Regions from separate parts of the Homo sapiens genome. Here all the other regions are linked to region 2. The links are contacts of gene promoters, found by promoter capture Hi-C in blood cells and fetal thymus (Javierre and others, 2016). All regions are on one chromosome and are shown on one strand. The core of a region is centred on a gene start or on the middle of the fragment in contact, and the rest is flanking DNA. Distances in the headings are between cores, read along the strand shown.

Region 1 (3,993 bases), core at 1,077-3,576, 600 kb after region 2:
GCACTTCAGCCTGTTGCACTTCAGCCTGAGCAACAGAGTGAGACCCCATCTCAAAAATTAAAAAAAAGAATTGGCACTTTGGGAGGCCGAGGCGGGTGGATCATGAGGTCAGGAGATCGAGACCATCCTGGCTAACAAGGTGAAACCCCGTCTCTACTAAAAATACAAAAAATTAGCCGGGCGCGGTGGCGGGCGCCTGTAGTCCCAGCTACTCTGGAGGCTGAGGCAGGAGAATGGCGTGAACCCGGGAAGCGGAGCTTGCAGTGAGCCGAGATTGCGCCACTGCAGTCCGCAGTCCGGCCTGGGCGACAGAGCGAGACTCCGTCTCAAAAAAAAAAAAAAAAAAAAAAAAAAAAAAAAAGAATTGGAATGACAACCAAGAAAACAAATGTGTCCTTTCAACCAGGGAGCCTTCTGTAGCCCAAAGAAAACAATGTACTCAAGGAGTAAAGTGATCCTATCATATAAGCTTATTGAAAAATAAAAAGCAAACATTCATATAATGTTTAGTGTATGCCTAATATTATGCTGAGTAAAGTGATCCTATCATATAAGCTTATTGAAAAATAAAAAGCAAATGTTCATATAATGTTTAGTATATGCCTAATATTATGCTGAGTTAAGTGATCCTATCATATAAGCTTATTGAAAAATAATAAGCAAACATTCATATAATGTTTAGTATGTGCCTAATATTATGCTAAGCTGGTTCATATATATTAACTCAAAACTCAAGGTATGTTGGTACGATTATTATCCCCATTTTAGAGATGAGAAAACACAGACACAAAAAAGAAAAGTCAGCCTGAGAGTGGTAAAGCCAGGATTCAAATCCAGGCAATCTAGCTCCAGGTTCCATGCTCGTAACCAGGTGCTACACACACATTTGTAGATTGGCTTGGATCTATAGCTATCGCTGTACATACAAGCTCCTTGCCAAGGATGGCAACTCAATAGTATTTTTTAAAAACCTCCAAATCTAAGCCAATCTACAAATATCAGGTCTGGCTCCCCTTTTCTTCTGAACACTTTTAAATTCTGAACCTTTGAATAACTGTAATCCCATGAAAAAGAACAACTTCCATTTGTTGAGTAAGTGCTTCACCAGGCTTATTGGTAGGAGCTTTGCAAGCATTGTCTCTAAATTTCCCTTTACTGGGGGCAGCCATAACTTGGCAACTACGAGGAAATGCAAGCTCAGTATTGCCACAGCTACAGATTTTTCAAAAAATGCCACATGTGGAAGTTCAAAATGAGGCCTGCTGTGGGCTCAATGATGCCACAAGAAATAGGACATAGGATGATATACCTAACACAGCAAGGAGATGCCTTGTGTGGCCATCAGTAGATCTTTGAGAAAAGACAGAGTCACTCTGTTTTACAGGCGTGAGCCACTGTGCCCAGCCTCATATTCTCTTTATTTAAGAAGATACCGGAGGTTATGGACCTCTAGCAAAATGGACAGGTAAAGCAAGAAAGTGGAATAAAAGTGATCTAAGTGGATCTAAGAAGGAGAGCAGTGCAGGAAGGTATAAAAGACAGGTGTACAAAAAGGGAGGGAAATATGACACATGCTACAACGTGTATGAACCTTGAGAATATTATGCCAAGTGAAATCAGCCAGTCACGAAAGGATATATATACTGTATGTTTCCACTTCTATGCAGTACCTAGAGTCGTCAAATTCACAGAGACAGAAAGAAGAATGGTGGATGCCAGGCACTAGGGTGAGGTGGGGATGGGGAGGTATTGTTTCATGGGTACAGAATTTCAGTTTTGCAAGATGAGAAGAGTTCTGGAGATGGATGGTGGTGATGGCTGCACAACAGTATGAATACACTTAACACTGTGTATGTACTGAATGTACATGTAAAAATTGTTAAGATGATAAATTTTGTTATGCATATTTTACCACAATTAAAGAAAAGACAGCTGTGCAGCAGGCCTGAAGAGCAGCCCCCCCAAAGTGGGAGGAGCACAGAGTGGGAAGTCTCCAGAGGAAAAATGGAAATGGAATGTTGCAATCTATTAAGGCGAGGCAAAAGACTCCAATGCCAGAATAGTGGAAGAAATTAACAAAGTATATAGAATAACAAACAATGGACTGAAACGAGGCAATCACCAACTCCATGAAAAATAAAGGATTGCATAAAATGTACAATCTGTCAAGGCAGATAACAATATTTGCACTGGTAATATTGTAAAAAATGGCTTCTGATTTAACCAGAAATTGTGCTGTAACTATGCCGTGTGTTAGCAAAGCGTGGAGAGGGAGGGATGAAGAGTGTGGAAATAGGAAGAGCCAAAACCACATCTACCTTGTCAGGAAGTCAACACATTCTCTTAAAATTAAGAAATCAAGCAATATCAGTGTATTATATTTAAACATTGAGGTAAAATAGCAGAGAAAAGAGCTGTAGATGAAGGTGGTTGTCTTTTCGGATGGGAACTGGAGGGTGCAATGGGTAGGAATTTTTTCATCTTCTCAAACTGAAATTCGTATACTTAGGCATGAAGTCCCATTTCCACCCTTCAACCCCCACTCCCAAGCACCTGGCATCCCCTGCTCTTTTTCAGAAGCCTTGTAGACTCAAAATTACCTGCACTATTTAGGCGAAAACTAAAAGTGGATATTTTCTAAGGTGTAAGTCATGTTACTGTTTTTCCTCAGGTATACTGTTTTCAGCCTAGAGCAAAAGTAAACTTTTAAGTGGTCTCTGCAGGGATATCTGACATTAAATGTTCATAAAGCTGGAGAAATACCTAGCAAGTTTAAAAGTTAGTGGAGCTTTCCCTGGTACAGAAACTCCTTCACAGAATTCACACTATGCCTTTGATATACCGGTTTCTAGGTTCTTGGGATCTGAGTGTGTATGTGCATTTGCACAAATTTGGTAGTCTGAATCTGGTGTGTTTGATGCTATGACAAATTATGGACAGTGAGCTATGGAAACACAGATGAGGGACAGTTCAGCAGAGGGTCAGAAGATACTCCCTGGAGGAGCTGGTGATCAAGCCAGTTTTTAAGGAGAGGTTAAGCAGAGGGAGGGAGACTGGATTGTTAAGCAGGGTGCATACATGGCATGAAGAATGGCACAGATCAGGGCATGTTTGGGAAATTTACAAGGGATTTGGTGTTGCTCAAGAAATGGAAGTCAGGGAGAAGCAGGATGAGGTGGCAAGGTGAGCAGAGGAGAGGGTCACAGAGAGTCTTTTTTCCCTGTAGGTGATACGATGCTCTCAGAGGGCTTTCAGGCAGGAGAAAGGCATGGTCAAAGCTGTGTTTGTTATTTGTTTTGCAACAAGTTTTTCCATATATTTGCCCCATCAGGCTGAATTGTCATCAAGAAGACACCTATTTTGCCTGTCTCCATATTATGTTTTTAGTTATGAAAAATTTTCAAACAAAATTAGAGAGAAGAGTATTTAAAAAAATAACTATATGCCCATCATCTAGATTCCATTATTAGGATTTTGCCACATTCAATTCATCTCTCTCTCTCTCTCCTTTTTCTGTGAAAATAATTCTTTATTGTGGTAAAATATATATAAACATAAAATTGACCATTTTAATCATTTTTAGATATACAGTTCAGTGATATTAGGTACATTCACATTGTTGTGCATCCATCACCACCATCCATATCCAGAACTTTTTCATCTTCCCAGACTGAAACTCTGTACCCGTGAAACAATGACTCTCACTGACCCGTCTCTCCAGCCTCTGGCAACTAAATATCAACTTTCTATCTCCATGGTTTGAAGGCATTTCATGTAAATGGAATAATACAATATGTGGCCTTTTACTTAGCGTAATATTTTCTAGATTAATTTTACATTGTAGCACATTTAGTCCCTTTTAGGTTTAAATAATATTCTATTGTATGATATACCATGCTTTGTTTATTCACTTATCAGTTGCTGGACATTTGCATTACTTATACTTTTGGCTATTATTAATCATTATGCTATGAACATTCATGTCTAAGTTTT
Region 2 (4,000 bases), core at 733-3,232:
CAGCCTCTCACCCTCCACCCCTGGGCAGGGAGAGGAACAAAAAACTCAATCAGGAAAGCAAGGCTCCATGTAGGTCCCCGGCCCCATAAAAATCAATGTGATGGGCGTGGTGGCTTACGCTGGTAACGCTTTGGTAGGCCGAAGTGGAAGGACTGCTTGAGGCCAGGAGTTTGAGACCAGCCTGAGCACATAGCAAGAACCGTGTCTCTACAAAAAAACAAAAATAAATTTGCCGAGCATAGTGGTGCATGCCTGTAGTTCTAGCTGCTTGGGAGGCTGAGGTGGGGGCAATCACCTGAGCCCAGGAGGTTGAGGCTGCAGTGAGCCATGATTGTGCCACTGCACTCCAGCCTGGGTAACAGAACAAGACTGTATCTAAAAAAAATAATAATAATCAATGCTGACCAAGAAAGTTTCCCTTCCCCTTGCGGGTGTTAGGAATAATGCTCAAAATCCTAAGGAAATTGAACACTCGAACACAGGATTCTTAGCAAAGCAATTTTACTTCTGCGCAGAGGGATGCCTCCTTGGCCAGTTGCCATGAGAGCACACCTGAACAAAGGGGCACGAGAGCCTTTATTCCTGATGCAAGTCCTGCCCCTGTACCCTTTCCCCATTGGCTGGGGTCAGGTCGTACAATCTAAACTAATCCCGGTTGGCTAAACATTTGATTTATTTTAGATAGAGTGGGCACGTAAAAGAAAGTGGAGAGAAAGGGGAAAGGGTGTCTGTAATGAGCTAGAAAGTTAGTCTTCTTTCCAAATAAGCAAAGGAATGTGAGCTGGTACTGATAACGCTTGGTACTGTGGCATGCCTGGGCATCTAACAAAGGCAAAAAGGAGAAAAATGAAAAAAAAAAAGGGGGGGATACTAAGAATTAAAGAATAAAAGATTGATCAGATTATTTGAAGAGAAACCTCATCATATCCCACAGGGGGAAGCTGAGTCAGCAGATCTGCCAGGGGTGCCCAGGGTTCCATTTAGCTCAGGACTTTGCCATATGCTGGGACACAGCCCCCTTGCCACCAACAGGCCTGGCTCTGAGGGTGAGGAGACCAAAAGGAGGTAGGGGAAAGGGGAGTCACCAACCCATGGGGTAAGGATTGGAGGGGTGAAGCAGTCAGGAGAGGTGGTCATAGGCCAAGGCTGGCAAACCTTTGCAGCCACACCAAGGCCGTTCCTACTCTTGGGGCCTATATGGGGTTCTTGCTGGGGCCTCCACTTGCTGATAGGAAGATCACAGCTCACAGAGCATCATGCTTTACAGTTTGCAGGCTGTCTTCTCACGGGAAATTTGCCAAGCCTCTCTGCAGTCCCTGGGTGGTCAGGGTTGATGATGACCCCCATTCTGGAAGAAGGCTGGGCATCAGAGAGGTTCAGGGACTCACCGAGGACACACAGCAAGAAAGTATAGGAGCCTCACCCCAGACTTCCACAAACCTAGCTTTGCATATCCTCCTGAATACAGGCAATTTTTTACAGTTCACCCACAGCGGGAAGGACCGGACCTTCTCTATCCGCGGGAACTGCAGCGGCGCCCACCTCACCCCTTCTGCGGGGGAAAGGGCGCAACCTTTGGGCTTGTCCAAGCCTCTGGGCTATGGTCAGGGGCCCTCTGTTGAAGTGGGCCGAGTGGGCAGGAGTGTTGAGGTCGAGCTAACGTGGTAAGGTCTGGGGGCGTCTGTGTCCTCGGGGCTCCTGTAGCGTCACCCAGAGGCGGGGGATGGGATTAGGGGACGTGGAGAGAGTCCTACAGTGCAACGGCGGAAAGGCCAGCCCCCAGATGCGGACGCCGCGGCCCAGAGAGGAAAGCCCCCACGCGGAGCCAGGAGCTGCGGCTTCCCGAGGGAGCCGAGGGGAGACCAGCGTTAGTTACCTGCAGCAGGCTCGGGCTCCGGTTCAGGATCACGCTTGGGTTCTGGTTCCGGCCCTCCCAGCTCTGTCCACATGGCCGCCCAGGGCTGGCCGCAGGTCCCGCCTCCGCGCAGCCCGGGGCTCAGCGGCCAATGAGGCTCCGCCTGCGCCTGGGGCGCTGCCTACGTCCTGTCGCCGGCCAAGGCCGCTCCTCCCTCGCCCCGCCCGGTCTTTCCCGGTCCCCGCCCCTCTACCCCCGGCAGCCCGCACCGCTTCAGCGCTCCCTCCCTCGGGTCTCCGCAAGCCCAGTGTCCACGTTGCTCAGATCTAGGCTCCTAAGGCACTGGTTTGGGAGCGGAAACAGAGATACCCAGAGAGGGGCAGGGGCTTCCCCAGGTCACACAGCAAAGTTTTCGGAGACCGAACCCCAACTACACTTTGCATTTCTCCCCGCTGCAAGACGCTGCTTAATCGACTGCCATCCTTGAGACTCCCCTTAACCCCTTCTCTGCCTCGCCTCTCCCTCACTTTTTTTGTCCAGGATTCACTAATTTCTGTCCTCCACTTTCACTGCTCCTTTCTTCAGTTCCTTCAAGAAGATTTTATATTTGGGCATTTTTCAAAGTACATTTTTGTCCTAAGGACAAAAAGAATGTATGCACAGTGTAGAAAGCTTGGAAAACACAGGAAAGGATGAAAAAAGAAGAAAAATATCACCTGTAATCTCTTCACCTACGGTAGCCATTATTACGGTGTTCGTCCTGCTAGTATTGTTTCCTCTGCATCTTTCAAAATTATTTTAATAAAAATAAAATCATATAGTAACCTCTGTTGTGCTGCTTTAAAAAAAATTTAAAAACTTAGCGCTGTATTTTGAAGTTTTCTCCTATCACTAATTACAGATGACATCATCCTCTCCAAGGTGGCATAGAATTCTGTTGTAGGGGTAAACTGTTGGACATTTAATTGTCTCCATTTTGTTGCTATAAAGGTTGCCAAGATGGACCACTGAACATGCATCTCACTCGCTCCACCCTCGCTGCACCTTCCTTCTGGCTAGGGAGGTCCCAAAGCTAACCGCCATGTTTCCCAGCCTCATTTGCAGTTAGAGTTCTGGATGTGGACTAGGTGCTGCCAATTAGTAGTACTCTGCCGGATGTGGAAGGCGGGCACGCATTGGAGGGTATTGTCCTGCCCCTGTAGGGTGGCACTAGCAGGATAGCAGAAATGGGAGATGTTCTGCGGCAGCATTCCTTGTCCCTTCTCCAGCTTTCTGGCTGTGGACCGGCCGCTGTGGCTGTAGCCGCTCCTTGACCTGGCTTCCTGCTCTTTGAATGGAGGCTGCAGGAGGGTGTCTGAAGTAGCCTCAGACAGGCACGAGGCTGGTGGGCCACGTCCATATTGTCCTGAGAGTTGGTCCTGGTCTGGCTAAGGCTTGCTTCTGCCTCCGGCACTTGCAGCAGGTCTGTAAGCACCCAGTTCCTTGTATTAAATCCCTGCCTCTCCACTGATCTAGGGTGCTCACATGCGACTGCTTGGACCTAATTCACTTAGTTCTTTCCTTAAGCTACATCTCTATGGAATCTTTTGCTACCATATCATCCTTAGCATGTTCACAGCCCTTGCTGCAAAAGTTAGCCATCCATGAAGGCACTATGATTGGCATCTTATCACCTTGATGCCCATGCTTTCCTCGGGTTTCTCCAGCAACGGCATGAGCCCCTTGCCAAGGCCCTCCTGCCTCCCCCACAGCACGTGGACAGCCTAGCTCCCCTTGGGCACTTGGCATAGCACTCCAGGACTGATTGACTTAATGATTAACTGACCAATCCTTAAGAGGCCTCATTGATAGAGGGAGTGAGTTTATGGCAAAATGAGTATCAGTCCTCGTGTTAGAGTGCATTGGAAACTGTGGCAGGTCTGAGAGGCCAGCTGCAGACAGGAAGTGACCCCCATGCGGCAAGGTTGGAGGCTGTGCCCCTTGAGGAGCAGCTGAAGGAACTGGGATGTTCACCCTTTAGAACTTGAAAGACAAGGCTGTGCCGTCCAAATCTCTGAAGGGCAAAACCAGATAGGATCTGTGGGGTCCTAGAAGGCAGAGCCAGACCAGTGAAGAATACAGAGGAATAACTCCCAGAAAAAGCAG
Region 3 (3,673 bases), core at 1,168-3,667, 520 kb after region 2:
CAGGTGGAAACTGAGGATCTTTCATTTGTAATCTGTGTGTAAAATATGGAAGTAAAGAGTAAAAAAAATTAGGAGATGAGGGCCTCAGTTTGAAGATACAATTGATTTGGTTTTGGTTTTTGGTAGAGATGAGGTCTTGCTATGTTGGCCTAGGCTGGTCACAAACTCCTGGCCTCAAATGATCCTCCCGCCTCAGCCTCCCAAAGTGCTGGGATTATAGGCATGAGCCACCATGCCCAACCAGCAACAGTTTTATATACCTTGAGAAGGTTAAAGGGAAGTCCAAGAAGATTAAAGTTTTGCTGTTGCTATCTAGAGCTCTTGAAAGCTTCTGCCACTTGTGATCCAAGAACAGGAATGCATGTTATTTGTGTTTGGGAGCAATAACACATCTATTTGAGTCTATTTCAACTCGAACTAGAGGAAAACAGAATCCCCAATAATTTCAGTTTGTGCCTTTTACAGTTTTTCCTCATTTATTTTATTTAGCGAGTTTGTGTTACACCTACTCAGTGTTGTAAAACTGCCATTTCAGGACAAATCATTTTGAGTTAAGAGGTTCTAGACTTTTATGGAAAATAAAGAGCACTGGCTGCCCGAGACAAGTTCCAAAGTGAAAATGTAAATGTCTCTTGATTTCTCCATCGCCTCCCAGGCTGGATTAGGCCCCTTCTGTGCCAAGTGATAACTGTTTCTTGCCTGTCTCTAACTGCATGTTTGTACTTTATCTGCCAGGACAATGTGATCTCCTCGAGGGCAGGGTCTGTCTTTCAGATTTCTATATCCACAGATTAGAGGTTCTCATAATAAATACATTTAATGAAGTAATCAATCTGATCTCTGATATTTTCTTTATCAATTATTCTCCTTGTTTCGGAAACCCTTTTAATTTCTTAAGAATTTCTTTTAGAAATCATCAAGAGGAATACATAATGGATAATTTCACTTACGTGAAGTTCTAGAAGAGGAAAATCTGTAGCAGAAACAAACAAACAAACAAACAGTGTTTCCCTCTGGGAGGATGGGGGCAGAGGTTCACCTGGAAGAGGCAGGAGAGAACTTGCTGGGATGGTGGTAGTACTCTATATGTTGACAGATGTTTGGGTTACACAGGTGTATACATTTATATAAATTTAAGTAATGTAGAGTTAATCTGTGTACTTCATTCTATGTAAATTTTACAACAAAAGAAAAAAACAAATGTTAAACTCTAGTCATGTGAGGACTTTTAGAAGGATGGGTACAGATGTCAGCAATTTAAAATGCATCAAAAATTAAGATGGATTAGGCTGGGTGCAGTGGCTCACACCTGTAAATCCCAGCACTTGGGGAGGCTGAGACAGGTGGATCACCTGAGGTCAGGAGTTCAAGACCAGCCTGGCCAACATGGTGAAACCCCATCTCTACTAAAAATACAAAAATTAGCCAGGCGTGATGGTGGGTGCCTGTAACCCCAGCTACTTGGGAGGCTGAATCAGGAGAATCACTTGAACCTGGGAGACGGAGGTTGCAGTAAGCCGAGATTGCACCACTGCACTCCAGCCTGGGCGACGCAGAGAGACTCCGTCTCAAAAAAATAAATAAAACAAGATGGACTGATGGACAGAGTTAGTTAAGGGATAAAACAAGTAAAATATTAATGGTAAAACCTTGGTAAACAGTGTTCACTGTAAAGTTCTTTTAACTTTGCTGTTTGGACATTTTCATAATAAAATGTTGGGAAAAACCATTAGGGGGTTTATCATTATTGCTGAATAATTGAGAAACTCAGTTTAGCTCTTTTAGTATGCTATTCTTAGATTGCTATGAAGTTATAAGATACCACTGAAATACTTGCTAGAAGGGAACACAAGCCTGTGGCCTAGAAATTTACTTGTCTTCCCCACTAATGATGATAATATGGCAGTTCCCTCCCACTGAGGTCTGGACTATCCCCTCCTGAATGTGACAGGGCTGGTGGCTAAAACAGAGGCCAATCTTTCAAACATTCTTTCCTGCTGGGCGCAGTGGCTCACGCCTGTAATCCCAGCACTTTGGGAGGCCGAGGCGGATGGATCACGAGGTCAGGAGATCAAGACCATCCTGGCTAATACGGTGAAACCCCGTCTCTACTAAAAATAGAAAAAAATTAGCCGGGCGTGGTGGCAGGTGCCTGTAGTCCCAGCTACTTTGGAGGCTGAGGCAGGAGAATGGCTTGAACCTGGGAGGCAGAGCTTGCAGTGAGCCAAGATCACACCACTACTCTCCAGCCTGGGCGACAGAGCGAGACTCCGTCTCAAAACAAACAAACAACAACAACGAAAAAGCATTCTTTCCTAAGACTGCCCAGCAATAAGGGGTCTACCCACCTCCTGACTAGCAGGGACCAGGCTACTAGGAAAATTATGATTTTCCTGCAATACACTGCAACTTTAAATAAACGCCAGGAAATCTTTCTTTTAATTACATACATTTATTAAGTATGCAAGAAAAAAACTATTTAAGAATAAATGCAATGTGTTTAGAACAAATCTGATGCTCTGTATTTTAACTTTTAAAAAGTAACCATTTCACAATTAAATTTGGATCCTTCATTTTACCCCAACAAAAACTAACCTTTTATAGAGAAGAACTTTAACAAGTAATGTCAACAAAGCATTCTAAAGTACTCATAATTTAAACAACTTGCAAGGAGACAACTGTTTTTTTTGAGACAGGGTCTGGCTTGCAGTGGTGCAGTCTCGGCTCACTGCAACCTCTACCTCCCAGGTTCAAGTGATTCTCCTGCCTCAGCCTCCTGAGTAGCTGGGACTACAGGCATGTACTACCACGCCCAGCTAGTTTTTTGTATCTTTAGTAGAGACAGGGTTTTGCCATGTTGGCCAGGCTGGTCTCGAACTCCTGACCTCAGGTGATCTGCCTGCCTCAGCCTCCCAAAGTCCTGGGATTATAGGCGTGAGCTACCTCACCCGGCTCCCTGGAAATAACTTTTTTTAAAACACTTTTTAAGGCTAAAAAGTATTTTGAGTTGTGTATGCTCTGGTTAAAGTTTCAGTTGTTCCTTTTCTGGATTTATTGCTATTGTTAGCAACAGTTGCAGCTATTTACAGCTTATACCAGGGAGTGTATATTTCTGTAGCTGCTCTCTCATTTTGAGTTAAAAGATAAGCTACACAGCACCAGGTCTGTTCCTGAGAAGGTAAGATCATCTTAGCTTACTTAACTGCCCAGTAATGTAAATATCATGTTTTTGTTTTATTGTTTTGTTTTTTGAGACAGAGTTTCGCTCTTGTTGCCCAGGCTGGAGTGCAATGCCACGATCTCGGCCCACTGCAACTTCCACCCCCCATGTTCAAACAATTCTCCTGCCCCAGCCTCCCAAGTAGCTGGGATTACAGGCCTGCGCCACTACACCTGGCTAATTTTTGTACTTTTAGCAGAGACGGGGTTTCACCATGTTGGCCAGGCTGGTCTTGAACTCCTGACCTCAGGTGATTGCCTGCCTTGGCCTCTCAAAGTACTACGATTACAGGCATGAGCCACTGCACCCGGCCAATATCATGTTTTAATCAGGGAACTCTTAGCTCTAGTTCAAGAAGTGCAAACCTGATAATGTACTGAAAATGATGTAGCTGAAGGGACACATTGTTCTTCTATATTGGCCTCAAAAAGGTAGGAGGTTCTCTAAATGGAC
Region 4 (3,684 bases), core at 382-2,881, 580 kb after region 2:
TCTCTACTAAAAATACAAAAAAAAAAAAAAAAAAAAAGCCGGCGTGGTGGCACATGCCTGTAATTCCAGCTACTTGGGAGGCTGAGGCAGGAGAATCGCTTGAACCCGGGAGGCAGAGGTTGCAGTAACCTGAGATCGTGCCATTGCACTCCAGCCTGGGTGACAGAATGAGACTCCATCTCAACAACAACAACAACAACAACAACAACAAATATATATATATATATATATATATATATATATATATATATATATATAGTGACAAATAGTTTCAAAGTGGTTCAATTGCACTCTGATCTCTATTCCTTCTTTTTACCTTCTTTGGGTATAATTTGTTGTTCTGTTTCAAAGTTCTTGAGATGGATGCTTACTTAGCTTATTGACAATTCAGCCTTTCTTCTTTTCTAATATCTGCATTTAAGGATCTAAGATTTTCCTCTATACATGGCTTCAGCTGCAATTGCACAAATTTTGATAGTGTTTTCATCATTCAGTTTCAAATATTTTATAATTTATACTGTGATTTCTTCTTTGACTCACAAGTTATTTAAAAGAGCATTTCCAAAAATAAAGAGATTTTCTAGTTATTTATTTCCTGAACTTTCATTGAAAAACAAACTGCTTAATCTCAATGCTTGGAAATTGTATGAATTTGTTTTTTGTGTTGTCTGATATTAACATAACACACCAACTTTCATTTAGCTAATGCTAGCAGTGGTATGCCTTGACATCCTTTTACTTTAAAACTTTGTGTATCCTTACATTTCAGGTATGTCTTCTGTAAGCAGTTTTTAAAAATCTGATCTGACAATCATTGTCTCAGTCAAATTACATTTAATGTAACTACTAGCAATCTTTGAGTTGAAATCTGTCACCAGAGAATTTACTTTCCATTTGTCCTGTCTGTTCTATGTCCCTTTTCAGTTGCTTTAAACATTTTTTTGGCCAGGCACATTGGCCCATGCCTGTAATCCTAGTGTTTTAGGAGTCCAAGGCAGGAGGATAGCTTGTGGCCAGGAGTTGGAGATCAGCCTGGACAACATGTGGAGACCCTATCTCTATAAAAAAATAAAATGGCCAGGCATAGTGGCTTATGGCTGCAGTCCTAGCTGCCCAGGAGACAGGCGGGAGGATTGCTTGAGCCCAGGAGTTGGAGGTTGCCGTGAGCTGTGACAGCACCAATGAACTCCAGCCTGGGCAACAGTGCAAGATCCCATCTCTAAGAATATATATACATTTGCTATTGATATCTCCCCATATGCTATTTAGTATGTTAAATATATTTTTACTCTTCTTTTAGCGAATACCTAAAGAGCTAACATCATGCATCAACTTTTTAAAGTGAAGTACGTAATTATTACTTCCTGGATGATGCAAGAACCTTAGCTCACTTCAACTTCCTTTATCCCATCCTAATATTTAATTTTTTAGATATAATTATATATAAATTTAATGCTCTACTAAAATTTTTCATGTTTTATACCATTCCCAGCCTGGACAACAAACTGAGACCCTTGTCTCTACAAAAAATAAAAAAATTAGCCAGCCATGCTGGCGTGTGCCTGTGGTCCCAGCTACACAAAAGGCAGAGGCAAGAGGATTACTTGAGCCCAGGAAGTCAAGGCTGCAGTGAGCAGTGTTCATGCCACTGCACTCCAGCTTGGATGACAGAGAGAGACTCTGTCTAAAAAAATGAAAAAAAAGTTCACATTCATTTTGATTTACACGCATATTTATTTTTGTTCTTTTCATTCTTTCCTGTACCTCTGATCTTCCACCTTTTTCCTTCCTCCTAAAGAATAATTTTGTTACCTGTTTCTGTGTAGATCTGATAGTGGCAAATTCTCTCAATATTTGTCTGGAAATATCTTTGTCTCTTGACTTCCATTGTTTCTGCAGTGAACTTAGCTCTCTTTTTGAGCCTCCTTTGAAAGTAATCTATCTCTTTCCTCTAGCTGCTTTTAAGATTTTCTTTGTCTTTGTGCATGTATGTTTTATTTTAGTTTTAGCAGCTTTACTCTTGTAGCTAAGTGTGGCTTTATATTTCTGTCTTTTTTTCTTCTTTTTTTTGTTGTTTGTTTTTGAAGAAGTTGGTAGGGATTTTTGTTTTTGTTTTTAAAGCAGTTGGAAGGTTTTTTTTTTGTTTTTGAAGCAGTTTTGTTTCAGAAGGTTTGGAGTGTGGTGGCGCTGGAATGCAGTGGCGCAATCTCAGCTCACTGCAGCCTTGACCTCCCAGATTCAAGTGATCCTCCTTCTTCAGCCTCCTGAGTAGCTGGGACCACAGGCGCATGCCACCACACCCGGCTAATTTTTTTGTAGAGTCAGGGTTTTGCCATGTTGGCCGGGCTGGTCTCAAACTCCTGAGCTCAAGAGATCCAACTACCTCAGCCTCCATAAGTGCTGGGATTACAGGGGTGCGCCACCATGCCTGGCCTGCTTTTTTTGTCTTTCTCTTGCTTGAGATGTATAGCCTTTCTTGAATCTACAATGTCTTTTGTTAATTTTTAAAATTGTCATCCATTATCTGTTCAAATATTGATTTATCTTCATTCTCTTTAATATCTTTCTGAAACTCCATTTATATTTATAAGATCTTTTCCCTGTATCTTATGACATATCTTAATCTCTATGTCCCATTTTGGTAAATCTGAACTTTATTCTGTATATTTTTTTCTCATCTATTCTCAAGCTCACAAATCCTTCAGCTGTGTCCAGTTTGCTGTTAAATCATCCAGTGAGTTTTTATCAGTTACTGTACTTTTTAGTTCTAGGGTTTTCTTTTTTTAGCTTCTAGTTCTCTGCTAAATTTCTCCATCTTATAATTCCTTGAACATATTAAATAGTTTTAATGTCAGATCTCCTGTGGGTCTATTTCTATTGTTTGCTGATTTTCTTGGTTTTTCAGACAACGAATCTCTTTGTACTAGTGCTCGTCACTGTATACAAAAATTATAGGGATAATTTAAAGCACTGGATGATATATTATATTTTTAAAAAAATTTCTTTAGAGACAGGGTCTTGCTTGGTCACCCAGGCTGAAGTGTAGTGATGTGATTATAGCTCACTGTAACCTCAAACGCCTGGGCTTAAACAATCCTCCCACCTCAGCCTCCAGAGTAGCTAGTATGGCAGGCGCACACCACCTTGCCCAGCTAATTTTTAGATTTTTTGCAGATATGGGATCTCTCACTATGTTGCTCAGACTGGTCTCCAACTCCTGGCCTCAATTAATCTTCCCTCCTCAGCCTCCCAAAGAACTTGGATTAAAGGTGTAAGCCACGGCACTCAGCTGCATATTTTCTTCTTCCATAGAAGATTCATCTTTAATTATGGCAAGTAAGCTAGAGTAGAGGTGCCGGCAATCTGAGGTCTTCTTAATCTACGTAGGGAATGAGATTATTTGAAGCTGGCCTTTAGTCCCCATGAGTACTGTCGATTCTGGATTCACCTTTAGTCCTAGGGTATACTGGGTGAGGGGAGGGGAGTTTCAATCCCAAACCTAAATTGCGGATCCTAAATTGCAATTCTTGTAATCTCATCTATCCCACCCATGAGTCCATTAGAAATACCATTCAGAGGCCAGGCGCAGTGGCTCAAGCCTGTAATCCCAGCACTTTGGGAGGCCGAGGCAGACAGATCACCTGAGGTCAGGAGGTCGAGACCAGCCTGACCAACATGGAGAAA
Region 5 (3,776 bases), core at 520-3,019, 620 kb after region 2:
CAGAAAACACAGTGACCACAGAGGGAAAAAAAGAACGAGTAAATGAAAAGGATGTTCTGTAATATTTCGTTCAACAAACCTATTCTGCACCATATGTGGTACTAAGGTCTTGCGGGGAGAGGCAAGGACACAGGCTCTGCTTGCTCTCAAGGACCTCAGCCTACCCTGAAAGATACAGGCCTATGAATGGATAGGGTGCAACAGAAAGGAACACAGTAAAATGGGAAACAGAAGGGCTCTGCTGTGGCCTGGGATGGGGAAGGGCCAAGATGCTCCTGAACTGAACCCTGAAGATCAAACAGGAATTCAGTGGTGAGAGGTTAAAAGCTGGGCATTCTAGATGAAGGGGACAATTTTTTTTTTTTTTTTTTTTTTTTTTTTTTTTTTTTTTGAGGCGGAGTTGCACTCTTGTTGCTCAGGCTGGAGTGCAATGGCACGATCTCAGCTCACCGCAACCTGCACCTCCCAGATTCAAGCAATTCTCTTGCCTCAGCCTCCAGATTAGCTGGGATTACAGGCGCCTGCCACTATGCCCTGCTAATTTTTGTATTTTTAGTAGAGACGGTGTTTCTCCATGTTGGTCAGGCTGGTCTCGACCTCCCGACCTCAGGTGATCTGCCCACCTCAGCCTCCCAAAGTGCTGGGATTACAGGTGTGAGCCACCGTGCCCAGCTTTTTTTTTTGTTTTTGAGACAGAGTATCACTGTCACCCAGGCTGGAGTGCAGTGGTGTGATCTCGGCTCACTGCAACCTCCACTTCCCAGGTTCAAGTGGTTCTCATGCCTCAGCCTCTGGAATAATTGGTATTACAGGCGTGCACCACCACGCCTGACTGATTTTTGTATTTTAGTAGAGATGGGGTTTCACCATGTTGGCCAGGCTGGTTTCGAACTCCTAACCTCAGGTGATCCACCCACCTCGGCCTCTGAAAGTGGATTACAGGATTACAGGTGTGAGCCACTGCACCTGGCCAAGGGGACAATTTCAACTATCTTTAACATAGTTGGTGACGAAGAAAACAGAATGCCTCTTAGTGGCCAGAATATATGTCATGACGTACATGCAATAAAGTCCACACACATTAGTCACAGAGGAGACTGACTCAAAGGCCACTTAAACACAGTGCAAAGCAGCAGCACCAGAACTCACACACCCTGGATGGGGGCCGTGTAAGAAGTACCTTGATTGATGGCCAGTATCTCTGAATGATAGTTTTTCCCATTCTGGTTTCTGACCATGTATTCCTGGATTGGCAAGCGTGCGGTCTTGACAGAGTATTCCCGGGCCTTTTGAAATGTCACCTTCTGTAAATATATAGTTAAATATTTTTCTTATAAAAATTATACATGAGTATATTCTCAATGTAATACAGCATTAAAAATAAGTAGCCTATTGTGGAATGGAAGAAACTGCAGATAATGAGTTAACTGTCTCAAGAGCTTATGTGACAATATCTTACTTTTTGGGGGGTCACTCATCCACAGTCCTCCACTCACTGCCACTTAGAACCAAGAGGGAAATAAGCAAAAGAGGCACATCTGCAGCCACAGTAGGCATCAAAAGGCCCAAGCAGTCTAATCAATCAGAGCACATTCTGAGCCCTAACTCAGTAAGACCCAATTCTGGATATCTGGAACTTCCAGCTCATTGCCAAAAGGCAGCATCAAATTAGAGGAAAAGGTAGACAAGATTCAAGACAGGTGCACCACTGCAACAAGTGGCATTAGGGTGTGAGAAGAGAGAGCCCAATTAAAAGAAAGGGGCCAGGTGAAGTGCCTCACACAACACTTTGAGGCCAAGGCCAGAGGACTGCTTGAGCCCAGGAGTTCAAGACCAGCCTGAGCAACATAGGGAGATCCTGTCTCTACAAATAACAAAAAAAAAATTAACAGGGTGTGCTGGTGTGTGCCTGTAGTCCCAGCTACTCTGGAGGCTGAAGTTGGATGATCACTTGAGCCTGGGACATATATCAAGGCTGCAATGAGCTGTGACTGCACCACTGCACTCCAGCCTGGGTGACAGAGGAGACCCTGTCTCAAAAATATAAAAGGGCGGGCTCTGAAAACTGCAAAAAGGAGTCACAAGAAGTCCATCAACTTGAGGCCATTTAGTGTCAGAGTACAGAAACTGATGTCCCTTTATAAGATGTTCCTTAGTCATGAAGTCCCTCAGACTGAGTCATGACTCAGTCAGATTACATTTGCTGCCTTGTAAGAAGCACAGGAAAGATTTTCTACCTAAGACTTCAGGATTAAAGAGAAAGGTTCAGATTACTGGGATAATTAACATGCCAAGGCTTGGAAGGGGTCTCAATAGTGTTAACTGTATCACTCTAACCACCCATTCATTGTCTGTTCTCTATGACTTCTCCAAGAGGCCATGTGGCCACTCAATGGACAGCTCTTGTGACAGGGAGTTCATGCATCCTGGGACAACCCACTCCAGTTTTGATAGTACCAGCTGATAGGAAATTCTTCTTGATCTTGAGCAAAATTCTGTTTTCTTTGAGACTTCCACTCATTCATCCTAGGTCTATTCCCCCAAGGCCAAACCATGCAAGTAAGATGGCCCTTCCAAAAGATGGCCATTCAGAAACTTGAAGGCAGTGATCATGCCCCTAGGAATCCTCTAGTCTCCAGATTGTAGCCTCAGTTCTGTCAACTCTTCTTTGAATTTCAAGTCCCTTCATCATTCAGGACAAGTTGAACTTGTTCTAAGCTAGTCCAGTATCATTTTGTTTACGGTCCCATAACTGACTGGCCATCATGAGTATGGTCTAACCAGGTGGAATAGTGTGAAGTGGACCTAGTACCTTTTCGGTGCTGACACCTGCCTCACATGAAACAAAATTTTAGATAGAACTTCCAAAAATGTTTTAAGCGATACAGGGACTTATTTGAAAGGATAAAACTCCTTTGCATATATGAGCTATATGATACGTTTGTTTTATAAAAAGTCTTATTCCTTTATAATCACTTTGAAGTACAGAATTCAAAATTAGGATATTTGGGTGTTGCCCTAGAAGAGCTTACAATTTAGTTTATGTTCTTTGCACAATGATTCATAATAAAATGACTCTCCTTGAAGAAATGTTGTTCTTAGCTTATTTCTGTGAAGAAGCCAAACTCCAATAACAACCAAAAAGTTCTAAACATCTCACAAATCTTCCAGTTATTTTTCAGTTTAAATGTTGGTGGACAGATAATATGTTAAAACTGCACATCTGTAAGTCATGCACTGCTCACTGACCCTCTGAACTTAACTGCCTCAAAAAAGGGACTGTTGGCCAGGCACCGTGGCTCATGCCTGCAATCTCAGCACTTTGGGAGGGTGAGGCAGGTGGGTAACTTCAGCCCAGCAGTTCGACACCAGCATGGGCCATACGGTGAAACCCCAACTCAACAAAAAATTAGCTGGGCATGGTAGCGCCCACCTGTGGTCCCAGCTACTTGGGAAGCTGAGGTAGGGGGATCAATTGAGCCTGGAGTAAGCTGATTGTGCCACTGCCCTCCAGCCTGGGCAGCAGAGCAAGGCCCTGTCTTGGACGGGGTGGGGGCGCTGTCACCCTGCTGCAGGTAAGACTAATAAACTTTTAATTATTATTATTGTTGTTTTTTTTTTTTTTTTTTAGAGACAGGGTCTCACTGTGTTGCATCACCCAGGCTGAAGTGCAGTGGTGTGACCACAGTTCTCTGCAGCCTCTAACTCTTGGGTTCAAGTAGTCCTCCAGCCCTCCAGACTTTGTGTGTGTATGAAACAGAGTCTCGCTCTGTCAC
Region 6 (3,734 bases), core at 126-2,625, 540 kb after region 2:
AGCTACTTTGATTTTATTTGTGCTACATCTCTAAGAATCCACAGCAGATTTCATGTCAAAAATAGAGTTCTAATGCTGAAATGCATTTGAAAGCCTCTGCTCTATACAGCTATTATATCTGCCAAAGGATAGTGTTAACATACTCTGACATCTGAAGATCCAGGATTTCCAACATTTAGAGCAACTTCACCTATAAGCCCCACCTTCTCCCATGTTTTCCCTCTCTTTTCACCCTCTCATTTTCCTCTTCTTCCCAGCCTCCTCATATATCATCTCTTCCCTCATTCTTAACTCTCTGTGGCATAGAACTGCTGTATATTTGTGTTTGTGTGTTTACCACTGGTCAATAACAAGCAAGCATGTTAACTATTCTTCTTAAATTAAGTTTCTTTTTCTTGTGGATGGTGTAGTCAATCAATAAAGATTTTTCTCAATGATTATTAGAAGCCTTGACTTGTTTCCCATAGCACAAGTGGAAGGAGAACAGGAAGAATCTGCAAAAGATGTTTGTGTTACAAATCAAAGGAAAAATGTTATACTTCTGGGCATAAATCTTTAAATTTAAGAGGAGGAGCCTTTAACCTTAAAGTGAAATATCACAGACTTCAATATCCAGAGGCAAGTGGATAGGCCATATAGGTTAGAAAGAGCTCTTAAACCATTCTACTGACATAAGTAGCCATGCAAGATAACCAGCATCTACTAGGCAAAGCCACCCAGTGAAAACACAAATTAGAAGTCTAAGATTTAGTCTCTGCCCAAAATAACAAGGTAGAGAAATGTCTATCTCCAAAAGTGACCCAAAATGACAAAAAAAAAAGCAAGCCATCTCTGGCTCTTAATACTCAGTTCACAAAGAGAAGAATAAACAATGAATGGTATAAGAGCTTAGACGTCAGTTAGTATGAAGAGGAACAGTATGTGGAATTTGTATAGGCAGAAACCATTTCAACTGGGGGGGTGTGGTGGAAGGTATAGGGCAGAGCAACTAGTTCTGCCAGAATGGCTAGGAAAAAACTGGGAAATACAGAGAGGAGCCAGATGGTAGCTCACTTTATCCTACAAACCCTTGGAAGCTGTCAGGCATTGCACAGACAAGGAAATGGCAGAGCAAAAAGTCTGAGGGTAACCAGGTGACTTTCACAATTACCTGAAAATTCATGACTTATATTTATACAGAGCTTTCACGTGCATAATCTCACTTAATTTTCACAACAATCTTGATTGAAATCTATATTTCTGAACTACTTCCTCTCCAAACTAGACCAAACTAAGTCCAGCTAATAAAACCAAAGCTCAAGTTCTATTAAGATTTAACTCAAGATATTCAACCCCAGGGACTCTCGGTTAGCTTTTTGAAGATGATGACTGAGGGATAAATCACCTCATCTCCATTGCTTTTATTTTTATGGATTAAAACCATAAAACTGGTTTTAATCAATCAATAATTAATCAGATTGGCATAATCTGTTGTTACAAGATTATAAAATCCAACTTTTAACCTACCTTCTCTTTGAGAGGCTCGTGACATGTGTTTCTCAGAAGAATTAGAATCACTATGATGACAAGGTGAGCCAGAAACTCTAGGACCAGATGAACTTGATGAAGTGGTCAAATCTTAAAAATATAAAAAATTCTGACAATAAACCTAGCATAACTCTGGTAGTGGCTCTTAACTTTTTAATTATCTACTCGAACCATAGTTTTAAAATTTTGAAAAAATGCTCATATATCACTGGCCTATAAGACTGAGGAAGGCAAGACAGCTCTTTGAAGTGTTCTAAGATCTAGTCCCTTTCTGAATCTTTTATATCAAAGACTTGACTATGTGAAATAAAAATGAAAAACCAAATAATCATAGGAGCGTCTTTGGATCCTCATGATTTCTGTACTAAAATGGAACCCAAAAATTCCATGAAAATGAAAACTAAGCTCTTAAGCCTATTGTTTTATGTTAAAATAGGGTCCAAACAACAGGCCCATTACCAGAAACATGAAGAGATTCTTCTTTAAAGTATACCAAAAACTTCCATTATCATTCTTGAAATTACGTGAATAGTCTTTTTTTTTGAGACAAGGATCTTGCTATGTTGCCCAGGCTGGACTCCTAATTCCTGGGTTCAAGTGATCCTCCTGCCTCAGCCTCAGCCTCCTGAGTAGCTGGGCCTAAAGGCATGCACCACTGTGCCAAGTTTATGTGAATACTGTGAAATGTGACATAAAGTTTACATTGAAAAAAATAAAATGAGTATCAGGTAGTGGAGTCTGATATATTACTCCAAATAGCAGTGTCTATTTCATCATCACATTTTGCTAGTGGTCCCATACCTATGTTAAGAATTCTTACTAGTCTAATTTCCTGTAATGTTATTTAGTATCAGAATTACCATTAGAAAACTGAAAACCTTGTTGGTTTTTGAGTTGAAATAGGCCAACTAGACATTCAAAATCACTATTTCTCACTAAGTTAGAGTTGCTTATCATGTTTAACTTAAAAGGCAAATTTGAATCTCAAAGGATTATACTCGTATATTTATGAAATCCCTTGTTTGCAAGTAAGTTGGTAAAACTTAAATTTCTACTTTTGACAGTTATGCCAGGCACTGCAGTACAATGATGTCTGTACTTTCCCAAAGGAATTTTCAGAAGTGGTCCTGTGCACAAGGAGAAAGATTCCAACCTTTTTTTTCATTTCCTTTTTTTTGGACACAGGGTCTTTCTCTGTTGCCCAGGGTGGAGGGCAGTGGGGCACAATCATGGCTCACTGCTGCCTCAACCTGCCAGGCTCAGGTGATCCTCCTGCCCCAGCTTCCTGAGTAGATGGGACTACAGATGCATGCTAGCATATCTGGCTAATTTTTGTGTTTTTCGTAGAGACAGGGTTTCACCATGTTGCCCAGGCTGGTCACAAACTCCTGGGCTCAAGCGATCTGCTCACCTCAGTCTCTCAAAGTGCTAGGATTACAAACGTGAGCCACTGCACCTGGCTAAATTTTTAAGTTATTTGTAGAGATGAGGTCTTCCTATGTTGCCCAGGCTACCCTTGAGTTCAACTCCTGGGCTCAAGCGATCCTCCCACCTTGGCCTCCCAAAGTGATGGGATTACAGGTGTGAGCCCCCGCACCTGGCCCCAACCATTCAAAGCTGCCTTTTAATAGCAATTTATTAGCATTCTATGTTCCAAATGCTTAAGTCTTTTTTCCCCTGGATTTTTGTTTATAATGTAAATGATGGGTATGTCCCCACACCAGTCCCCTCTTTCCCAAAGGTAGATGAAATATAGTCTTTTTTAAATCACATAATGTTGATAAAATACAATACGTACATTTTTCTGAACCCTAAATTCTCTTAAGTCTAACAAAATCAGCAATGGGAGAAGAGACAGAGTTTTAGCAAAAGAGCGTTTAGAGAGTAATGAGATAAGATGGCACCAGCTACCTGTGTCTGGACATCTGTAAGTCTAGGATACAGATAAAACTAAAACTCTATATTGACCATAATTTAATAAAAGCTCTGCTTGATTCCAGAAGGACTTAAGACCTTGTGCCATCACTAATTTTTGAGATAGTGATGATTCAAAATTACTGATGAAAAGATCCTGTGGCTAGCATAAAGCTAAAAGAAAATACTTTAGGGTCAGCAGTTATTCCTCCTAGTCCATTTGTGATTCAGAGGTACATATGAATGATATGTCAGAGATACATACAAATCATTATACTTGCTTAGATAAAAAC

What was found. Contacts are between HindIII fragments. The CHiCAGO score rates a contact against its expected background, and 5 or more counts as called.
Region 1: a contact is called between a fragment that was not itself captured here and the fragment with the promoter of ALDH1B1 in region 2, in 3 of 17 cell types (monocytes, M1 macrophages and M2 macrophages). The highest score is 7.9, in monocytes.
Region 3: a fragment that was not itself captured here is called in contact with the fragment with the promoter of ALDH1B1 in region 2 in 1 of 17 cell types (M0 macrophages); the score reaches 5.5 in M0 macrophages.
Region 4: a contact is called between a fragment that was not itself captured here and the fragment with the promoter of ALDH1B1 in region 2, in 1 of 17 cell types (monocytes). The highest score is 7.1, in monocytes.
Region 5: a contact is called between a fragment that was not itself captured here and the fragment with the promoter of ALDH1B1 in region 2, in 5 of 17 cell types (M0 macrophages, monocytes, M2 macrophages and 2 more). The highest score is 7.8, in M0 macrophages.
Region 6: a contact is called between a fragment that was not itself captured here and the fragment with the promoter of ALDH1B1 in region 2, in 3 of 17 cell types (M2 macrophages, M0 macrophages and monocytes). The highest score is 6.6, in M2 macrophages.

Annotation. Positions count from the first base shown.
Region 1 is chr9:37,794,463-37,798,455 of GRCh38, reverse strand. All of the region lies in intron 2 of LOC105376037 (a long non-coding RNA gene), which reads left to right. Among named protein-coding and RNA genes, the nearest start is that of DCAF10, 4.3 kb to the left of the region's middle. The HindIII fragment of the contact is 3,366 bases long and covers 644-3,993 here.
Region 2 is chr9:38,390,684-38,394,683 of GRCh38, reverse strand. It overlaps ALDH1B1 (aldehyde dehydrogenase 1 family member B1), which reads right to left and starts at 1,982. Exons shown (of 2, transcript NM_000692.5): 1 at 1,877-1,982. RefSeq lists enhancers at 1,506-1,595, 1,636-1,685 and a silencer at 1,896-2,215. The HindIII fragment of the contact is 5,526 bases long and covers 1-2,529 here.
Region 3 is chr9:37,872,314-37,875,986 of GRCh38, reverse strand. No RefSeq gene overlaps it. Among named protein-coding and RNA genes, the nearest start is that of SLC25A51, 30 kb to the left of the region's middle. The HindIII fragment of the contact is 4,174 bases long and covers 331-3,673 here.
Region 4 is chr9:37,810,655-37,814,338 of GRCh38, reverse strand. The region is part of intron 1 of DCAF10 (DDB1 and CUL4 associated factor 10); the gene reads right to left. Among named protein-coding and RNA genes, the nearest start is that of DCAF10, 12 kb to the right of the region's middle. The HindIII fragment of the contact is 4,860 bases long and covers 1-3,684 here.
Region 5 is chr9:37,773,810-37,777,585 of GRCh38, reverse strand. It overlaps TRMT10B (tRNA methyltransferase 10B), which reads right to left. Exons shown (of 9, transcript NM_144964.4): 8 at 1,181-1,304. Among named protein-coding and RNA genes, the nearest start is that of EXOSC3, 9.4 kb to the left of the region's middle. The HindIII fragment of the contact is 5,813 bases long and covers 1-3,776 here.
Region 6 is chr9:37,855,124-37,858,857 of GRCh38, reverse strand. It overlaps DCAF10 (DDB1 and CUL4 associated factor 10), which reads right to left. Exons shown (of 7, transcript NM_024345.5): 5 at 1,507-1,617. Among named protein-coding and RNA genes, the nearest start is that of SLC25A51, 47 kb to the left of the region's middle. The HindIII fragment of the contact is 4,995 bases long and covers 1-3,734 here.